Linked DNA regions of Homo sapiens: region 2 is linked to region 1. Evidence: promoter capture Hi-C in 16 types of primary human blood cells and fetal thymus (Javierre and others, 2016). All regions are on one chromosome and are shown on one strand. The core of a region is centred on a gene start or on the middle of the fragment in contact, and the rest is flanking DNA. Distances in the headings are between cores, read along the strand shown. Region 1 holds the start of ERO1A (endoplasmic reticulum oxidoreductase 1 alpha). Region 2 overlaps LOC105370502 (a long non-coding RNA gene).

What was found. Contacts are between HindIII fragments. The CHiCAGO score rates a contact against its expected background, and 5 or more counts as called.
Region 2: a contact is called between a fragment that was not itself captured here and the fragment with the promoter of ERO1A in region 1, in 1 of 17 cell types (M2 macrophages). The highest score is 5.8, in M2 macrophages.

What each region holds. Positions count from the first base shown.
Region 1 is chr14:52,693,058-52,698,726 of GRCh38, forward strand. ERO1A (endoplasmic reticulum oxidoreductase 1 alpha) reads right to left here and starts at 2,501. Exons shown (of 16, transcript NM_014584.3): 1 at 2,311-2,501. The coding sequence starts at 2,424. RefSeq lists enhancers at 2,026-2,527, 2,133-2,182 and a silencer at 2,433-2,972. The HindIII fragment of the contact is 13,242 bases long and covers 1-4,582 here.
Region 2 is chr14:53,210,583-53,215,989 of GRCh38, forward strand. The region is part of intron 5 of LOC105370502 (a long non-coding RNA gene); the gene reads left to right. Among named protein-coding and RNA genes, the nearest start is that of DDHD1-DT, 60 kb to the left of the region's middle. The HindIII fragment of the contact is 1,664 bases long and covers 1,144-2,807 here.

The DNA of each region.
Region 1 (5,669 bases), core at 1,251-3,750:
GACCATTCTAAATTTCTAAATTTCTGTTAAAACTGTTTTTTTAACTATATGATCCTCAATTTACTTTTTTATTATTATTATTATTTTGAGGCAGACTCTCACTTTGTCACACAGGCTAGAGTGCACTGATGCAATCATGGCTTACTGCAGCCTCGATCACTGAAGCAGTGGGCTGGGAAAGGCAGACCCACCCTTAATCTGGGTAGGCACAATCTAATCACCTGCCAGCATGGCTAGAATATAAGCAGGCAGAAAAACGTGAGAGACTGGCCTAGCCTTCCAGCCTACATCTTTCTCCCATGCTGGATGCTTCCTGCCCTCAAATACCAAACTCCAAGTTCTTCAGTTTCGGAACTCAGACTGGCTCTCCTTGCTCCTCAGCCTGCAGACAGCCTATTGCGGGACCTTGTGATCATGTGAATTAATACTTAATAAACTCCCTTTATATATATATTCCATTGGTTCTATCCCTCTAGAGAACCCGGACTAATACAGACCGGGTCTCCAAGCTGGTCTCGAACTCCTGGGCTCACTCCATCCTGCCACCTCAGTGTCCCAAGTAGCTGAGACCACAGGCGCACACCATCACACCCAGCTTTTTTCTTTTTTTAATTTTTTTTGTAGAGACGGGGGTTTCACTATGTTGCCCGTGCTGGTCTTGAACTCCTGGACTCAAGAGATCCTCCCACCTCAGCCTCCCAAAGTGCTGGGATTACAGGCTGGAGCCACCACACCCAGCCCAATTTACTATTTTTCAAGGTTGAGTCTGAAAAGAAACACAGATAGCCACTCTCGTTCTAAAAGAAAAAGAAAGGGGTTTAACAGAATTTTATGTTAGGGAAGTATTTGAATATGAGGGTATTGTGAAAGAGGAAAAGTTTAATCACTAGTTAGAAGAAAAAGAAAATAAATGCAAAGAATTTAAAGTTCTATTTTAAGCAGAACTCCAAAAAGGTTATTAAGGAAAAAAAAAGTAAAAGTTGAAGAGTTCAACATGTACTTTTATTCCAGTATCCAAATCTCCAGAATGTAGCTGAAAATGTTACATTGGACATCTTCTTTCCGTAAAGAATATTTTATTTTAAAGTCACTTATTTCTATCTTATTTTTTAAATGTTTAATCTCGGTGTTGCGTTATATTTCTAATCAGAAGAAAAATGACCCTTTTCCTTTTAAGTACTTGATTGTGTGTCCTTTGTAATGATTGAAGGTAAAGGACTTTTCAATGTCTCAGTTGTAAAGTAGCAATTTTCTTTCAACTTCCCTTAGTTTCCTAGATAACACTCACCTCAACTCCCAAATCACTCAGCAAAACAACAAAATCCAAGAATGTAAAGTAGTGAAAGAGAAACCTTTCATAATATTTAAATGCATCTTTCCTTTGACATGGTATCATGCCCCTAAACACATAAAATGGTATTTCTGATAATAAATTAATAGCAAAATCCACTTAGGAATAACATGGATGCCTAACCCTTAATTTTGTATAAAACGTAATTTTTATCAACAGAGTCAACCAAAAAGTGGCTTTGACAAGAGTAATCACATTGAAATACTAGATACTGAAGATAATGGAAAACTGTAAGTTTCTCTCAATTTTTTGCTCAAGAAACCACATCTCTTACAGAAGGAAATGATCATAATCCGCTTGTAATTAAACTTGTGCACTGAAGAATAAGGACCTTCCTCCCAATTCGTACCAGCTTAACGGGTGTCACGATAAGAGAATCTCATTACATTCGAGAAAAAGAGCACACAGGACCAGAAACCAGAGGGCAACTGCAGTCCCAAAGACATCAGGTAGTTGGGCTTACACACAGAAAAACCGCAAGCAGCCATTCTTCCGCCTAACATCGAAATCTGAGATCAGCCCACAAACGTCTTAGCCAGAAAGGCTGGCGAAATGCACGCAGCACAGGTACTGGGTACACAAGTTCCTGGTCAAGAGAGAAGTGAGAAAGATCCAGGTTCTGTGAAAATAGCAAATACTGGCAGGGCATTATACACTGTGCACACTCTCCCCGGGCAGATAAGACCAACAAAGATGCATAAACCCACTCAACCGCGTGCACCCAACCCCTCTCCTGGTCCGAGGCACCGGAGGGCGCGGCGACGTCCAGGCTGCCGTGGAGGCCCGGTCCACGCCAAGCCAGACTCAGTCCCGGCCACCGGGCAGCAGCACCGGAGTCTCATTCCCGGTGGGAAGAGATGCAAGGACGCACCCCCAGCCGCTCACCCGCCAGGGCGTGCGGGACAGTGCACGCCGCGGAGGGCGCCGGGACCCTCAGCACCAACGCGCACATCGCTCACCTGGCAGAAGCACCTCTGTGCCGCTGTCTCCGGGGGCTGCTCCTCTCCGTGGCCCGAGCTGAGCAGCCACACGGCGCCCAGGAGGCCAAACAAGAATCCCCAGCCGCGGCCCATTGCAGCTCCGGCAGCTTGTCGCCCCACGCTTGGGAGGCCAGTCCGCACGCTCGGTCGCGGGCCGTGCGCCCTCAGATGAAGCCCGTGCGGGCCGGCCCCAGCGGCGCCCCACCTCCGGGCCGCCTCCCAGGCCCGCCTCGGCCCTCCTGCCTCTCAGCGATCGCCACCTCGCGACCCAGCCTGTGGACGTGCCGCGGCGCCCGCGCCGGCAGCCCGGGGCCTCGGACCGGTTCCTTCCCGCCGCGTGAGGCTGACGCACCGACCAGCTTCCCGGCTCGGCCCCGCCCGGTCCGCTGCGCCCGCGCCCGTCCCCGCCCCCGGCTCCCTGACGCCCCCGGCCTGGAGACGCAACCCGACGCGCACAACCCCAGACCCTGCGCGGGAGTCGGGGGTCCTTCCAGTTCCCAGAGCGAGAGCGAAAGCCGGAGGGGCCTGTGTTTTCCTGCGGGGTTGGGGGGCGGGGGGTGCCCGCCCCGCGCCGCCCCGCCCAGCCCCAGCCCGCTCACTCCCGGCCAATCCTTCCGTATCTCAATGCGAGACAATCAAATCGTACGAATTACGTGTCCACCGTGTTCCCGGCGGAGTCTTAAAGCTGAAAGGGATATTAGAGAGCATCTAGACCAGGGCAGCATATGTCATTTATATTTTTAGTAGCCACAGCAAAAGAGTAAAAATAACAGGTACATTTTATTTTTAAAATATTTTTATTTAACCCCGAATGTGCAAAATATTATTTCAAAATATAACCAACATTAAATTTATTCATAAGATATTTGACTTTTTTTGTCTTTGAAATCCAGTGTGTATTCGATGCGAACTAGACCCATTTCATAGTCAAATGTGGCTGGCTAGTGCCCACTGTATTAGACAGCGAGGGTGGAAGCCACCCGCTCATATCATAGGAAGAAACAGGCCTAGAGAAGTGAGGTAAGGTGAGCAAGGATTGGAGGTCCTCTGATACCCAGTCCTGGTCTTTTAACATTCAGAGTTGGGACTAGTCTATCCGCTTTTTTTTTTTCCAGACAGGGTCTCCCTGGGTCACCCAGGCTGGCCTGCAATGATGCGATCGCAGCTCACTGCAACCTCGAACTCCTGGGCTCAAGCGATCCTCCCACCTAAGCCTCCTGAGTAGCATGAACTACAGGCGTGCGCCACCACGCCTGGCTAATTTTATTTTTAGTAGAAACGAGGTTTCACCATGTTGCCCAGGCTGGTCTCAAACTCCTCAAGAGCGATTCTCCCGCCTCAGCCTCCCAAAGTGCTGGGATTACTTTTTTTTTTTTTTTCGAGGCGGAGTCTCGCTCTGTCGCCCAGGCTGGAGTGCAGTGGCGTCATCTTGGCTTACTGCAATCTCTGCCTCCCAGGTTCAAGAGATTCTCCTGCCTGAGCTTCCCCAGTAGCTGGGATTACAGGCGTAAGCCACCACACACTCGGCTAATTTTTGTATTTTCAGTAGAGAAGGGGTTTTGCCATGTTGGCCAGGCTGGTCTCTAGCTCTGAGCTCAGGTGACCCACCCATCTCAGCCTCCCAAAGTGCTAGAATTGCAGACATGAGCCACCGCACCTGGCCTTACTTTTTGTTTTTTGTTTGTTTGTTTGTTTGTTGTTTTAAGAAGACTTTTTTTTGAGACACTCTCACTTCCTCACCCAGGCTGGAGTGCAGTGGCGCAATCTCGGGTCACTGCAACCTCCGCTTCCCGGGTTTAAGTGATTCTTACGCCTCAGCTACCCGAGTAGCTGGGATTACAGGCCTGCGCCACCATACCCAGCTAACTTTTGTATTTTTAGTAGACATGTGGTTTCACCATGTTGGCCAGGCTGGTCTCGAACTCCTGACCTTAAGTGATCTGCCTGCCTCTGCCTCCCAAAGTGCTGGGATTACAGGTGTGAGCCACTTCACCAAGCCTAAGAAGGTAGTTTCTAGGTGAAACTGGCAGCTTTCCGACATCTTGCATGCACATTAAAAGTTGAAATAGTTCAAATGACTTAAACTCATGTATTTTACTGCAAACCCTAGAGCTCTGCCTATCACTGCCAAGTAGACATGTAGTAAAAGTCAACAACCCATCTGAGATCCTGATGGACCTGAGAAGCTCTAATTCTAGTATCTACAACATGTCACATGTACATATTAATACAATCTCCCTCCTAACCTGAAAGCTTTTTTTTTTTTTTTTCTTTTTCTTTTTTTTTTTTTTTTTGAGATAGATTCTCACTCTGTCGCCAGGCTGGAGTGCAGTGGCGCAATCTTGGCTCACTGCAAATCCAGCTCCTGGGTTCAAGTGATTCTCCTGCCTCAGCCTCCTGAGCAGCTGGGACTACAGGCGCGTGCCACTACGCCCAGCTAAGTTGTTTGCATTTTTAGTAGAGACAGGGTTTCACCATGTTAGCCAGGATGGTCTCAACCTCCTGACCTCGTGATTCGCCTGCCTTGGACTCCCAAAGTGCTGAGATTACAGGCGTGAGCCACCGCACCTGGCCAAAAGCTCTTTTTCATATTCCTATATACAGGCCCCAGTTATCCTTTTTAGGGCCAGACCCAGGTCATGTTCTCCCTGTCTTAAGTCGTCTTCCTGGTTTCCTCCTAACCCAGTTCCAGTCTCTCAATGATTTCAATTCAGTAAACTTACTCTGTGACAAGCTGAGCTTGACATTTGGGATACAAAGATGTATAAGGTCCAGTTCCTACACTTGGAGAGACATCCATGGAACTTAGTATGTACTTTTTAAAAAATATTTAATTGACAAATAATAATTGTGTATATTTATAGGATACAATGGGATGTTTTGATCTATGCATACATTGTAGAAAGATTAAATAAAGCTTATTAACAGATACATTGCCTCACCAACTTTTCATTTTTCATTGATGAGAACATTAAAAAATTATTCTTTTAGCAATTTTGCAATTCTTATTAACTGTGGTCACCATGCAGTGCATTAGATCACTAAAACTTATTCCTGCAGTCTAACTGAAACTTTGCACTTTGACCAACATCTCCCCTTTCCCCATCCTCCCTGCCCACCGGCCTCTGGTGACTACCTTTCTACTGTTTCTATGAGATAAACTTTTTTAGATTCCACATGTAAGTGAGATTATGTGGTAATTGTTTTCTTGTGCCTGGCTTATTTCACTTGGTATCATGGCCTCTAGGTTAATCCATATTGTCACAAATTACAGAATTTCCTTTTTTTTTTTTTTTTTGAGACGGAGTCTCGCTCTGTCACCCAGCCTGGAGTGCAGT
Region 2 (5,407 bases), core at 726-3,225, 520 kb after region 1:
AAAGGGTAAGAGGCTTGTGAGAGGTTTACTTAGTTCCTGCACTCAGCTTTGGTTTGACCAAATGCATAACTGAGCTTCTCTTTATCATTCTGAGACTCAGCTGCAGCAACACTAGAGTTGGCAGTGTTGGCCGAGTACCTCTTCCTAGTACTGTACGAGATATTTTAATTCACATTTTGGCAAGAGGAGATTCCAGCATCTGCTGATTGAAACCCAGGATTCAGGGACCTGAAATGGATTATGTAGCCCGTTTCTAGTACAATGTTAAAACAGATCACTCCAAGTCTAGAAAGTTTTGTATTATCTGGGCTGCTTTTTTAAACACCAAGATCAAAGTTAACCCTATAAACATTCCTTACATTATGGCACAGATGTCTTTGTGAAGAGTTGGTAGAAATTGAGTAGAAGACTGGATTATATTTTATAGGAACTCTGGTGACTTACTTATAAGTTAAAGGTATGCTATTAAGATCTTTATTTTGTTTGAAAGAACACTCTCTAATATATCTTCTGTGTAGCTGTGGATTTTTATTTGATAATTTTTCTTAAAATAGATTTTTTTAAAGTCACCTGACTCTGCTTCTTTAAGACAGACTATAAAAACAACGGAAACCGGGCACGGTGGTTCATGCCTGTAATCCCAGCATTTTGGGAGGCTGGGGTGGGTGGATCACCTCAGGTCAGGAGTTCGAGACCAGCCTGGCCAACATGGTGAAAACCCGTCTCTACTAAAAATACAAAAATTAGCTGGGTGTGGTGGCGGGTGCCTGTAATCCCAGCTACTTTCAGGAGGCTGAGGCAGGAGAATTGTTTGAACTTGGGAGGCGGAGGCTGCAGTGAGCCGAGTTCGCGCCATTGCACTCCAGTCTGGGCAACGAGCGAAATTCTGTCTCAAAACAAACAAACAACAAAAAACAATGGAGCACTCTGGAAGTCAGCTTTTTAGGACCACATGCTGTGACATCTGACACTTGGCATCCTTAATGTTGAGGGCACTTTCTTTGGGAGGTACATTGGCCTATTTCTAAGAAAAATATATATCATAATTATTGTATAAAACAGTTACTGATCTTTTTTTTTTAAAGATGGTAGTAAGTTGAGAAAATTCAAGTAAACATTAAGTAAACTTTAAATATTAAGTAAAGCTTTATTTTAAAAGCTGTTAGAAGTTTCTTTTCTGGCTGTTTAGATAATGCTGGGTAAAGACATTATTTTACAATAAGTAAGTGATTTGAAGAGAATAAAATGATATATTTGGTATAATCAACATTAATGCAATCATAAATAATAGAAAACTCTCATGTTTGGAACACATAGTTTAGATTTTAAGGTAATTTGAATATATCATGTGTGATTACTTAGAGATCAACTATTCTCAGCCCTGGCTGTGCATTAGAATTACTGAGGAACATTTTAAAAATACTGATGTCTGGGTCTCACACTCGGAGATTCTGATTTAATTTGGGAAGTGGATCAGACTCTATATTCTCAGAGATCCATGGGGAAATTCTAATGTATAGTCAAAGCTGGGAACCACCAGTATAAAACCTTGCAACTTAGAGTGTGGGCCATAGACAGTGTTAGCCTCACCTACAGCTTATTAAAAATACAAACTCTCAGGCCCCACCTTAGACTTTCTGAATCAAAGTCTGCATTTTAAGGTGAGGTAAGGTAGCTGACACCTGTAATCCCAGAACTTTGGGAGGCTGAGGTGGGCAGATTGCTTGAGGTCAGGAGTTCGAGAGCAGCCTGGCCAACATGGTGAAACCCCGACTCTACTAAAAAAAAATACAAAAATTAGCCAGGCGTGGTGGCGGGTGCCTGTAATCCCAGCTACTCAGTAGGCTAAGGCAGGAGAATTGCTTGAGCCTGGGAGCAGAGGTTGCAGAGAGCTGAGATTGTACCACTGCACTCCAGCCTGGGTGAGAGTGAGACTCCGTTTCAAAAAACAAACAAACAAGCAAGTCTGTATTGTAACTAGGTTGCAGATTCATTTGCAACATGTTTTTCATAGCACTTTGACTTTAAAAGTGCTTTCATAGTCATTTTTCTGTTCATTTGTGTATTTTGTGTGTGTGTAGGGGGGGTCCATTTATTAAGTATCTGGTGGGAGTGGACACTGTTGTAGATACTGAGAAACATAAAAGTAGGAATAAGATTTGGGCCTCCCTTTCAAGTAAGTTGCAAAGGAGTGGGGTGGAGGTGGGGTAGAAACAGATCTGGTGAGCAGATTGGGACCAGAGATGTAAAACAGCTGTGCTATGGAGCTATTGATAGCCTTTTGGGAGGAGAAGGAACAGGGGATACCCCTCCCTTCTCTACCCCATCTTCACTCAGGGAGTGGGATTTGAGCTGAGTTTTTCAAATAGAAGTAGGCATAGGACTGGTGGTTCCTAAAATGTGATTCCTGGCCAGCAGCATCTGCATCCCCTGAGAACATGTTAGAAATGCCATTTGTTGGGCCCTTTCCAGACTTAATGAATTACAAACTGAGGGTAGGGACCAGCCATCTGTTTTGTATTTTTTTTTTAACATGCCCACCATGGGGGGGAGGGTGGGGGGGGATTATGATACACATCACCCAAGTTTGAGAACACTGGATGCAAGCATTTTCCATACAGAGAAGAGAGGAAGGAGCATTGCACACCATTGAAAAAGTATCCCCCAAATCAGAGGAAAGGTCATTTGTAGCATTCTGTGAAGTTTGTCATGGCTTGAACTTAAAGTAAGTTGAACATAGTAAGCTGACTATACTAGGAATTTCCCCCAAATTTTGCTCAGATCCATGTATTTTTATTGTTCCGGAAAGCTTAATCTTTCCCTTTTAGGTCATTGGATCATTAATTACATTTAAAGAAAAAGCTTTGTGTTTGGTTGTATTTATTTATTTTTCTGAAAATTAAATTATGAAGTTGGCTGAACACTTTTTTTTATAATTGGAATGTTATAACTAGAAGATTTCTGTAGAAATGCATGGGAAGACTGAAGCATAGGGACATCCCTATTTGCCTTTAAATAAGCCTAGTTTAAATGGTCTTTCTTGGAGTGTAGCTGAATTTACATTGTCTGTGATCTTCTGTGATAGAGTGAATCCATATGAACCAAAACCTCCAGGTCCAAACAACTTTAATAATGTTAGTTTTTCCCATTTATATATTTTCTTGTCATAATAACCAGCATAGAGCAAACATTTTTTACTTTCCTTTTTCTCCTTCTCAAGTTGAACTGCTAATTGGCACCTTGGAGGCCAACGGGGGTCACCGAAGGGAGGAAAAGGGCTGGATAATGAATCAGGAAATAGGGTTCAAAGGGAATTCCCATTCCAGTGCTGGAAATAACCATAGAGATCACACAATCCAGCCTTTTCACATCAGAGGCCTCTGAGAGCTTAAATGAGTTGCCTAGGGTCACATTGTAATGTAGGAGCTGGAAACAGAAACCATGTTTCCCAACTCCTTGCTGAGTGTTCTTTCTACTGCTTCATAGATAGAGGTAGACTGTATCCTCATGGGGAAACACACACACTATGTGGGTGTTGCTGTAGAACATAATGATTGATTTTTCCCTTTGCCATGTGTAAGGGGCTAGTAATAGACCAGATCTCATCCAATTTGATAGCTTTAACTATATGTAAGGTACATGGATGTTCTTTGGTCAAGGTTAGGCCAAGGCAGACATCCAGGCCTGCATGATTCAGTGGGTTTAGGGTGCAGGCTCATACTCCATTTGTTATCACCTGTTTGTGTAAGTTCATTCTTGGCTTGGAGCTGCTGTTGTCTTTAAAAGGTATAACTGCCCGGCTGACAGTATTGCATGGGGCTTGGCTCTTAGGCATGGCTCAGCATGGCTCTTGTACTGGTGCCCAGAGAAACAGAGAGAGAACCAGAGCTGTCTTTCTTGTGGATGGACAGAGGGGAGCCAGGTCATGGCTTGGCTTGTCTCTCGTGCCCAGGGAAACAGAGAAAGAGTTAAGCTGCTGACCCTGAAAGCAGGGGAGAACCGGCTGTGCAGCTGTGTGTGTGGGAGCAGTTCAGAGCAAGCAGCCGAGACAGGGAGGACAGTGCGAGAGAGACAGTGTAAGTAAGCTGCTGATGAGAAAGCTGTTGATGAGAGCTGCTGCTGAATAAAATCATCTTTCACCTGCCTAAGGCTCCCTGAGTGTTCTTTCTCTTCATCCATCTACTCTCTTTGGACCTCAACATGACAATTGGCATAGTCATGAACCTGACACTATATATTGGTTGTTATGTCCCAAATCATCTTTGAAATGAATTAAAGTGTGAATAGATAATAAAAAGCAAATAAAATCAATCAACCCAATACTGACTTCCCTACTAAGGCCAAGGTTATATATCTAATAGCCTCCTGAACAGGTGTACCTGGACATTTCATATAGGCATTAAAAAATAAACATTTCCCAAATTGCATATTTACTCACCTAAAACTTGCCCCCCACCTTTAGATTCTGTCATTGTTTACTCAGAACCTTGAGAATCATCCTCAACTCTTCCTTTTTCTCTCACTTCACATGTACACTCAATCACTAGCTTTGTCAATTTTATCTCCTGTCAACCTTAGCTCTTAAACAGTTTTCAAGTCCAATGTGTTCTCATCACTTGCACTTCCACTGCCCTAAATCAGTCCACTAATACCCCTTATCTGGTCTATTGCAATGGTCTTCATCCTGGTTTTTCCTCCTCCAGGCTTGTGGTTGAAAGTTTCTCTTTCATACTGTTTTCAGCATGATCTTTCTAAAGCGCAAAGCAGACCACACCATAGCCTATTTTACAATAACCCTCCATCACTGATAAGACAAAACTTTAGAATGGCACAGACAACTCTATAATTTGACCTCTGCTTATAACGTTATGTCCATCTCTGGTAACTCTTATCTATATACCCATGTCCATCAAGATGAGACTACTTGTAGCTACCAAAACATCTTATTCACCAACTTATTTGACTGCCTGGTGAAAGCTTGTTCATTCAGAACACAACTCAGACATCACCATTTCATTGACATTGTCTCTGACATCTCCCCACTTTCCTCCAAAGCTAGAGTGAATTGCCTTCTCTGTACCTCTGAGCCTTACACATCTTTACACTTGCATATAATTTTCTTCAACATTTTATGAGGAAAATTTTCAAGCAGAAAAGTTGAAAGAATTTTGCAGTGATCACACAATTAATGTTTTATTGTGCTTACTTTGTCACATCTCTCTCTCTATCCATCAATCCACGTTTTTAGAAAAATGCTTTTCAAAGTAAGTTGCAGATATCGATATACTTTTTTCCAAATAACTCAGAATACATATCACTCAGAGTTCCTACATAACATATAGAGTTCTATATTTGTTTGTAATTCTTATTTTAAAATTTCATGTTAAATTTATGTACAATGAAATGT